Regions from separate parts of the Homo sapiens genome. Here region 1 is linked to region 2. Evidence: promoter capture Hi-C in 16 types of primary human blood cells and fetal thymus (Javierre and others, 2016). All regions are on one chromosome and are shown on one strand. The core of a region is centred on a gene start or on the middle of the fragment in contact, and the rest is flanking DNA. Distances in the headings are between cores, read along the strand shown. Region 1 overlaps PPFIA3 (PPFI scaffold protein A3). Region 2 holds the start of PTH2 (parathyroid hormone 2).

Region 1 (4,024 bases), core at 475-2,974, 280 kb after region 2:
GCGACAGAGCAAGACTCCGTCTCCAAACAAAAAAAAAAAAAAAAAAAAAAAAAAAAGGTAAATGAGTCTGTAATCCCAGCACTTTGGGAGGCCGAGGTGGGTGGATCATCTGAGGTCAGGAGTTCAAGACCAGCCTGGCCAACATGAGGAAACCCTATCTCTACTAAAAATACAAAAAAATTAGCCAGGCATAGTGGCGGGCGCCTATAGTCCCAGCTGCTCAAGAGGCCGAGGCAGGAGAATCGCTTGAACCCAGGAGGTAGAGGTTCCAGTGAGCCAAGATCGTTGCCACTGCACTCCAGCCTGGGTGACAGAGTGAAACTCCATCTCAAAACAACAACAACAAAAACCAAAAAACAACAAAAAAATAAGTAAAGGAAATAAATTCCTTTACCTACCCAGTCACCCAAGCAGGTCCCAGAGTGCCCTTTCCTTTTCCCTCCTCCTCCCGCCTACCTTGGCAAGCTGTGTTCCTTCCAAATTCTAAATAAATCACCAAATGAATGAAGACATGAATGGATGTCAAATGAACATACAAAGAAGAAAGAAAGGGAGGGAGGAAGGGAGGAAGGAACAAAGGAGGGAAGGGTTAGAGTGAGGTACTCACCCAGAGAAGAGCTGTCCCGGCCTGGGGGTCCCATTCGTCCCTTCTCTTTCTTGCCAAAGAGACGGCCTATGGATGACTTGATGCTCTTCTTCTTGGGGGCTTTGTGCAGAGAATCTGGGGTGCCCTCACTGGGAAAGCAGGAGAGAATGAGAGCATATGCTTGCTGAGATGCCCCCTCTCCTCCCAAGTCCTTGTCCACCCCCTTCTCATCTTCCCAAGCCAGCTTCTCCCTGTCCCTATCCCTTGTCCCTGCTGACCTTCCCCGTGGGGGTCCCCCATCTTCCAGGGACCCCGCCTGCAGTGCCAAGGCCTGGGTCATTCTCTCAAGACGGGCAGAGCGGGGAGTGGGTGGTGGGGTGTCTCCTGGGATGGCCGGCCCCTCCCCTCGTGGAGCTCCAGCTTCCTCCTTAGGGACATGATTCTGAGGACAGAGGGCACAGATGCTGGATTGAGTTCAAAGAGTCATGTCGGGGGCTCCTTATTAACTGAGATGTCTACTAAGGTGTGTGTGGGGTGACCCTGGTTTAGAACACAGTATACGAAGGTAGTCTAGCTCAAGTCAGGGTGAGTTGCAGAAACTTTTTTTTTTTTTTTTTTTTGAGATGGAGTTTCACTCTTGTGGCCCAGGCTGGAGTGCAATGGCACAATCTCGGCTCACTGCAACCTCTGCCTCCCAGGTTCAAGAGATTCTCCTGCCTCAGCCTCCCAAGTAGCTGAGATTAAAGGCATGTGCCACCATGCCCGGGTAATTTTTTTTTTTTTTTTGAGACAGAGTCTAGCTCTGTCGCCAGGCTGGAGTGCAGTGGCATGATCTCAGCTCACTGCAACCTCTGCCTCCCGGGTTTAAGTGATTCTTTAGCCTCAGCCTCCCAAGAAGCTGGGACTACAGGCCCACACCACCATACACGGATAATTTTGTATTTTTAGTAGAGATGGGGTTTCACCATGTTGGTCAGGCCTCAAAGAAAGCTAATGAGTTACAGGTTCTGGAAGCAGGAAAGCTGAATTTAAGGGAGTAAAATAGGGCCAATATCTCTTTGTCTCCCTCAAAGGTCAATTCTGAGGATCTAATTTGTAGTTCTCCAATGCATGTTGTCACAGAAACTTTTTTTTTTTTTGAGACACAGTTTCACTCTGTCTCCCAGGTTGGAGTGCAGTGGCACAATTTCAACTCACTGCAAACTCTGCCTCTTGGGTTCAATTGATTCTCCTGCATCAGCCTCCCGAGTAACTGGAATTACAGGCACGTGCCACCAGGCCAGGCTAATTTTTGTATTTTTAGTAGAGGTGGGGGTTTCACCATGTTGGCCAGGTGGGTCTCGAACTCCTGACCTCAAGTGATCTGCCCACCTTGGCCTCCCGAAGTGCTGGGATTACAGGCGTGAGCCACCGCACCCAGCCAGAAACTTTTTAAAATCCTATGCAGAAACTTGACGCATGAGAAATAAAAGTAGACCAGATCTGACTAAAGTGAAAGTTAGGGTTCAAGATCCCAGTGACTCAGCCTCCCCTTTGCCCTTTGAGTTTGAACCTTTAGGGAAAGCTGAGGTTGCTTTGGAAAACCACTGGTGTGAGGGGTTATTGTTGCTGTACACTGGGGAGCCCTGCCTCTGACCTCTCCCCATCCCCCTACTAGGCTGGGGAGACTTCAGAGCACTCACAGCCTTGTCGGTGCCCTCACGGGCAGGGCTAGGGGGTGCCAGGCGGGGTGTTGAGTGGCCAGAGCTGGGAGGGGAGGGGCTGGCAAGGGTAGAGGTGGTGAGGGAGGGGGGCAGGGAGCAGCTGCTGCGGTAGCGGCCCAACGAGTCCAAGCCAGAGCTGGACACCCGACTCTCCAGCTCCTCTGCCCTCTGTTCTGTTGTCTCCTTCTCCTCTTGGATCAGCCTGAGGAGGGAAATAGGGGAAACTGGGTGAGGGGCCGCAGCAGACAGCGGGAGAGGGAATCTGGGAGCACAATGGGCCAGAAAGGCCTGGTGGGGCAATGGGAATTCTGGGGACGGTGCAATGACGTCAGAGGACTTTGGTGGGTTTCTGAAGGCCTTCCAGGCTCAAGGAGAGTCAAGGGGTCCTGAGAGTCTCAGGAAGTCATTGCAGGATTAGGGCTATCAAGGTGATTGGGGTTTGTATCAGGGTGGCCCTGATGATAGTCAAGGGGTTTGGAAAATCATGAAGGGATTACTATGGACAAAAGGTCAAGTTCAAGGTGGCCTGTAAGAGCAAGGTCATAATAGGAGCATTGTGAGATCAGGGACTCAGGCCAATCTAGGATCTGGGAAGGGCATGGACTCATTTGGTATGGAAAGTGGTGGTCATGGTATATTTGCCGAAGGCTCATGGGGAGTACATTATAAGAGAATTGCTGAATATGGCCATTGCTGGTGAATCAGGGTAGACTTTACATCACTGGGGGCTTCTTAATAAGTTGGGGACTTTTTTTTTTTTTTTTTTTTTTTTTTTTTTGACACGGAGTCTCGCTCTGTAGCCCAGGCTGGAGTGCATGGCACTATCTCGGCTCACTGCAAGCTCCGCCTCCCGGGTTCATGCCATTCTCCTGCCTCAGCCTCCTGAGTAGCTGGGACTACGGGCGCCTGCCACCATGCCTGGCTAATTTTTTGCATTTTTAGTAGAGACAGGTTTTCACCATGTTAGCCAGGATGGTCTCTATCTCCTGACCTCATGACCTCATGATCCGCTGGCCTCAGCCTCCCAAAGTGCTGGGATTACAGGCGTGAGCCACTGTGCCCAGCCTGGAGTTGAAGTTTTTGATTAGCATGTTAGGATGAGATTCTTGGTGTTTGAGGTTGGGAACCTTGTGTTGTCTTGAGATTCCTAGGGTAGTGGGAGACTCTGGGCACTGGTTATGTGAAACCACAAAATCGATGGCGTAATGGAAGATTCTTGATGCATCAAGAGGAACTGGGCTATTTGGGGATGCAGGCTTTGGTGTGTTGGGGAATGGTGAGTACTGGCTGGGGGGTATATGTGTAGGTAGCACATAGAAGACTTCTGAGTGTATCCTAGGGGATGCCTGGACAGCGGAGTGAGTGTTGGGCTGGAAGAATTCCTTGTGGATGGTGTAAGAGGAGACGGACTCAGGCTTTCAGGCCTCCAGAGCCAGAAGGGCTGTGGAGTCAGCTCCGGCAGGGCAGGGCAGGCCGGGGCGGGGCCAGGGCTCACTTGATCTCCTTGTTGATGGCCTCCAGCTGCTCCTGAAGCATGATGGCCAGCGTCTGCACGTCAGCCTGCCCACTGGGGGACAGCAGCTCGGCCCCAAACATCCCCTCTGCCTCCTCCTCATCGGAGCCGTCCAGTTCCCCAGGGAATGGGGGTGGTATGGAGCCCGCAGGGGCAGACCGCTCCCAATCCTATCCCTGTGTGGGGACAGAGGGACATTAGGTGGCTGGGGGCCGAGGTTGG
Region 2 (4,375 bases), core at 231-2,730:
CTACTGCTCTGTAGGACTTCCAAGTTTTGCCCATCTTCTCCTCACTGTGTATAAAGGCCCCTCTTTTTAAATTTTTTTTTTTTTTTGAGACAGAGTCTCACTCTGTTGCCCAGGCTGGAGTGCAGTGGTGCGATCTCAGCTCACTGCAACCTCCCTCTCCCAGGTTCAAGCGATTTTCCTGCCTCAGCCTCCCAAGTAGCTGGGATTACACCACACCTAATTTATGTATTTTTGTAGAGAAGGAGTTTCGCCATGTTGGCCAGTCTGGTCTCGAACTCCTGACCTCAAGTGATCCACCCACCACGGCCTTCCAAAGTGCTGGGATTACAGGCATGAGCCACAGCACCCGGCTGAGGCCCCTCTTAAGAGTCAGTGTGGACTGGGTGTGCTGGCTCACGCCTGTAATCCCAACACTCTGGGAGGCCAAGGAGGGCAGATCACAAGGTCAGGAGTTCAAGACCAGCCTGGCCAACAGTTTGGCGAAACCCTATCTCTACTAAAAATACAAAAATTAGCTGGGCGTGATGGTGGGCACCTGTAATCCCAGCTACTCGGGAGGCTGAGGCAGGACAATGGCTTGAACCTGGGAGGTGGAGGTTGCAGTGAGCCGAGATAGTGCCATTGCACTCCAGCCTGGGCAACAAGAGCAAGACTCCATCTCAAACAGACAAACACACACACACAAAAAGAGTCAGTGTGAGGAGGACTGGGCTTTAATCTTCACAGCACCCCCAAACTCCTCCCAGATAAGGGCTTAGACACATCCTTAGGGCAGCTCAGGAGCCCTGTCTGTTTTCCCCTCTTCTCACTCTCTGAGGTTTTTCTGATGTGGTCTGTCACTTTTCCTGTCCTCACACCCCTGCCACACGTACCCTTTGCCATTTCTTGCCTTTCCCCCCTCCCTACCTCACCCTCGATCTTTCTGGGCCTCTCGCTGCTGTATTTATCTCTGGGCAGCTCCTTCCAGACCAGGACGTCCTTCCATTTCCGTCTGTCTTTCTGAGAGCCTTTTCTTTCCCTCCTCCATCTCCATCTGACTGTTCGTTTCCATCTCCTTCGCTCTCTTTTCTTGTTTTCTTCCTTTTCCTTTCTTTTTCTGTCGTTCCCATTCTTTCTCTCTATTTCTTCCTCGGCCACTCTGTCTTTGTCCTTCTCTTTGTGTCTCTGTTCCTCTGACGGTCCTTCCGCCAGTCTCTATTTTTAGCCCTCTGACACACCCCCTGTGTCCACCTCTCTGTCTGTCTGTCTCTCCCCCTCCCTCGTCTCAGGTCCAGCTTCTGGTCCCAATTAGTTGGTGGCGGCCAAGGCAGCGGCAGGTCCCCCACCCCCGGCTCCTCATTACCGCTGGCGGCTCCTAATGAGCCTGGGGAGGGGGTGACCCCGCGTCCCCGGCCCCCCGGCCTGCGTCACTGCCCGGTGCGGGGGCTGCGGAGGCGATATAAGGGGGCTGCCACCATCGCTGCCCCAGCCCACTGCACGGTAGGGGACTGTGCGGGAAGCTGGGGGTGGATGCATGGTGGGGCCCGGGGTTCTGGGCCGGGATGCAGCCCTACTGAGCCCCTTTCTGGTTCTCCACAGGTGATGGAGACCCGCCAGGTGTCCAGGAGCCCTCGGGTTCGGCTGCTGCTGCTGCTGCTGCTGCTGCTGGTGGTGCCCTGGGGCGTCCGCACTGCCTCGGGAGTCGCCCTGCCCCCGGTCGGGGTCCTCAGGTAGGTGCCAGTCCCAGAACTCCCAGGGAGGGGTGGGAACTTGGAGAAGTGGGAAGAGAACCAAAGAGAAAGGGGACGGAAGATCCAGAAAGCGGAACAGAAGCCCAAAGAGAGGGCGACCGAGACCCAGCGAGAAGACAGAGACTAGGGGTGGGGGAAGGCGGGAGGAGGGTTTGGTGGTAGTGGTGGTGCGGGAAATGGACAGAAAATCAGCAAGGGAAAGAGACACAGAAAGATAGATCCCGAGAAAGGCGTGGAGAGGCTCGAAAGGAGTCGTTGCAGAAACGGATTCATTCTTTGAGCAACGTTTATTGGGTTCTTGGTGTGCGCCTGGCCATGCGCTGAGCGCTGTGGGCGGACAAGTGCATCAGACTCGGTCTCAGTACCTGGGGAGTTTCGAACCTGGTGAGCAGAGAGACAGAGACCCACACAGAGAACGAGAGAGACAGGGGGAGCCGGACCGAGCCACTCCACGGACTGGGCAGTAACGGGGCTTCGAGTTAGACCGCGGGGAGGACAGGCGGCGGCAAGAGCGAGTCTGGACGCGCGGTCACCGCGTCTCTCCACAGCCTCCGCCCCCCAGGACGGGCCTGGGCGGATCCCGCCACCCCCAGGCCGCGGAGGAGCCTGGCGCTGGCGGACGACGCGGCCTTCCGGGAGCGCGCGCGGTTGCTGGCCGCCCTCGAGCGCCGCCACTGGCTGAACTCGTACATGCACAAGCTGCTGGTGTTGGATGCGCCCTGAGCGCGCTGCCCGTCCCCATCTTAATAAAGACCATGCCCTGCGCTCCGGACTGCGCCTAGTTCCTGCGCGACCTGCGTGTGCGTTGGGTTGGGGGCGCGGGGCTTGAAATGGGGGGTAGAAAAGAGACAGGACTCTGTGTCGGCCACTCTGGCATCTCTCTCCTCAGTCCCCACTCTATTTTCTTTCCTCAATTCCGTTTCTCTCTGCCTGTCTTTGTCCAGGAAGCTGGCTTCTTTCCTATTTCTGGATCTCTGCTTCCCTATCGCCCCCACCCCCCCGCCCCCTCCTTTCATTCTGGGCCCCTGTCCCTCCCTACCCCCATCTCTGTCCCCTTCTCTCTGGTTCTCTGTAATCTCCAAGGTCTCTGTCCTCCTCCGTCTCTGTCCCTTTCTCTGGGTCTCTTTCCTCTCTGGGTATGTGTCCCCGTCTCCCTGGGTCCTTGTGGTTATCTCCCCTTTCACCCTTTTGGCTTTCTGGTCTTCTGGGAATCTCTGCCTCCTCTCTCTATTCTCCTTCTGCCTCTGAAACTCTTCCTTCCCTTCTCCATCACTTTCTTTTTTCCTTTTTCCTCTGCCTGACTCCTTCATATCTTCCTTTTCTTTCCTCCGTTAGGTTTCTATCTGTCTCTCCATCAGCTCTCATCTTTGAATTTCGCTGTTCCTCCCTCCCATCACTTCCAGACTTCTCCCCAGGCACAGTGGAAAGATCGCGGGCTCTGGTGTGAGGCAGCCCTAGCATCCAAACCCAGGGTCCTCCAAATCTAGCTGCGTAGTACTGAGAAAGCCTTCTTGACGTCAGTCTCTGTGTCTCCTTTTCTTCATCTGTTACGAGGATCCAATAAGATATACTTCATAAGACTTCAGTACAGCGCCCGTTACGTAGCAAAACGCTTTTATTTGAAAAGGGTTTCCTCTTCTCACAGCAGCGTCCAGCAATTTTTTTCAGGGTTTTCTGACTTCGGGTCTCCTTCTCTAGAGACCTTCGGGGCGCCAGGCTGGGGCAGGAGAAGAGAAAGGAGCAGGCGTCAGGCTCCAAAAAGGACAGGGAAAGGGCGGGAAGATACCTGGGCTGCAGGTGAAGCGAGAAAAGAGCCAATCGAAATCTGTCTCTCTCCCCGGAGGTCCAGCCTGCCCTTCAGCTCCGCCCCTCGTGGTAACCATGGCAACCCGGTGGTCCGCAGAGGGCTAGATCAGCGCGCCTGGGGCGCCGTTCGTGCGGACCGCGCTCTCATTGGTTTAAAGAAGAGAGTGGAGCCGGCCGCGTCTGCTGCGCGGGAAGCGGGGCCGCCGCGCGTGTTTGGCAAGGCGTCCCAAAATTTGCATTTTCGGGAGGCGGACCGAGCCCTAATTGGCCCTTGGACTGTGGGGGCGGGACTGTTTCCTCTGTCCTTCCGAATAACAAAGGAAAGACTGCATTCCTCAAAACTATCTGGAGTTGGCCTAATTTTACAAATAAGACTGAAAGTCAGGAGGAATTTTCCTAAGTTGTTAGAGCTACTAAGCGACAAAAGAATAACTGGAATCCGGGTATGTGCAATTTCAAAAGTCTAGACTTTTCCGCCACTCTCATGGAGAAATGGAATGAAAATGTGAATGAGCAGTTGCTATATAGCAGGCACTCTTCTAAGTGCTGTGCTTGCATTAACTCTTTTAACCTCACAAAGACCCTATGAAGAGCCTCCTCCTGTTTCCCCGCGGGCCTGGTAGCTGGGTACTGGCCTGGTCTCTTCCCACACTCTATTTTCTTCCCGATCCGTATCAGAACATTTGAGGTTTTGCTCAAAATGGTGTCTGGAGCCTCCTCCCTCCCCACTCTACTCTCAAGCAAATTCAGCAGTCCCCACAGCTTCTGCCACCACCCACAGCTGACAACACCCAGACCCCCTTCTCCAGCCTGGGAGCTCAGGGCTCAGGACTCCAGCC

What was found. The method cuts DNA at HindIII sites, captures the fragments that hold promoters and counts their contacts. A CHiCAGO score of 5 or more calls a contact.
Region 1: a fragment that was not itself captured here is called in contact with the fragment with the promoter of PTH2 in region 2 in 1 of 17 cell types (total B cells); the score reaches 5.4 in total B cells.

The regions. Positions count from the first base shown.
Region 1 is chr19:49,136,672-49,140,695 of GRCh38, reverse strand. PPFIA3 (PPFI scaffold protein A3) reads right to left here. Exons shown (of 30, transcript NM_003660.4): 15 at 3,785-3,972; 16 at 2,269-2,491; 17 at 865-1,028; 18 at 608-735. Among named protein-coding and RNA genes, the nearest start is that of HRC, 17 kb to the left of the region's middle. RefSeq lists an enhancer at 3,368-3,874. The HindIII fragment of the contact is 8,599 bases long and covers 1-4,024 here.
Region 2 is chr19:49,420,546-49,424,920 of GRCh38, reverse strand. PTH2 (parathyroid hormone 2) reads left to right here and starts at 1,480. Exons shown (of 2, transcript NM_178449.4): 1 at 1,480-1,709; 2 at 2,279-2,502. The coding sequence starts at 1,582. The coding sequence ends at 2,453. It also overlaps a transcript of GFY not described here. RefSeq lists a silencer at 1,161-1,364. The HindIII fragment of the contact is 6,183 bases long and covers 1-4,375 here.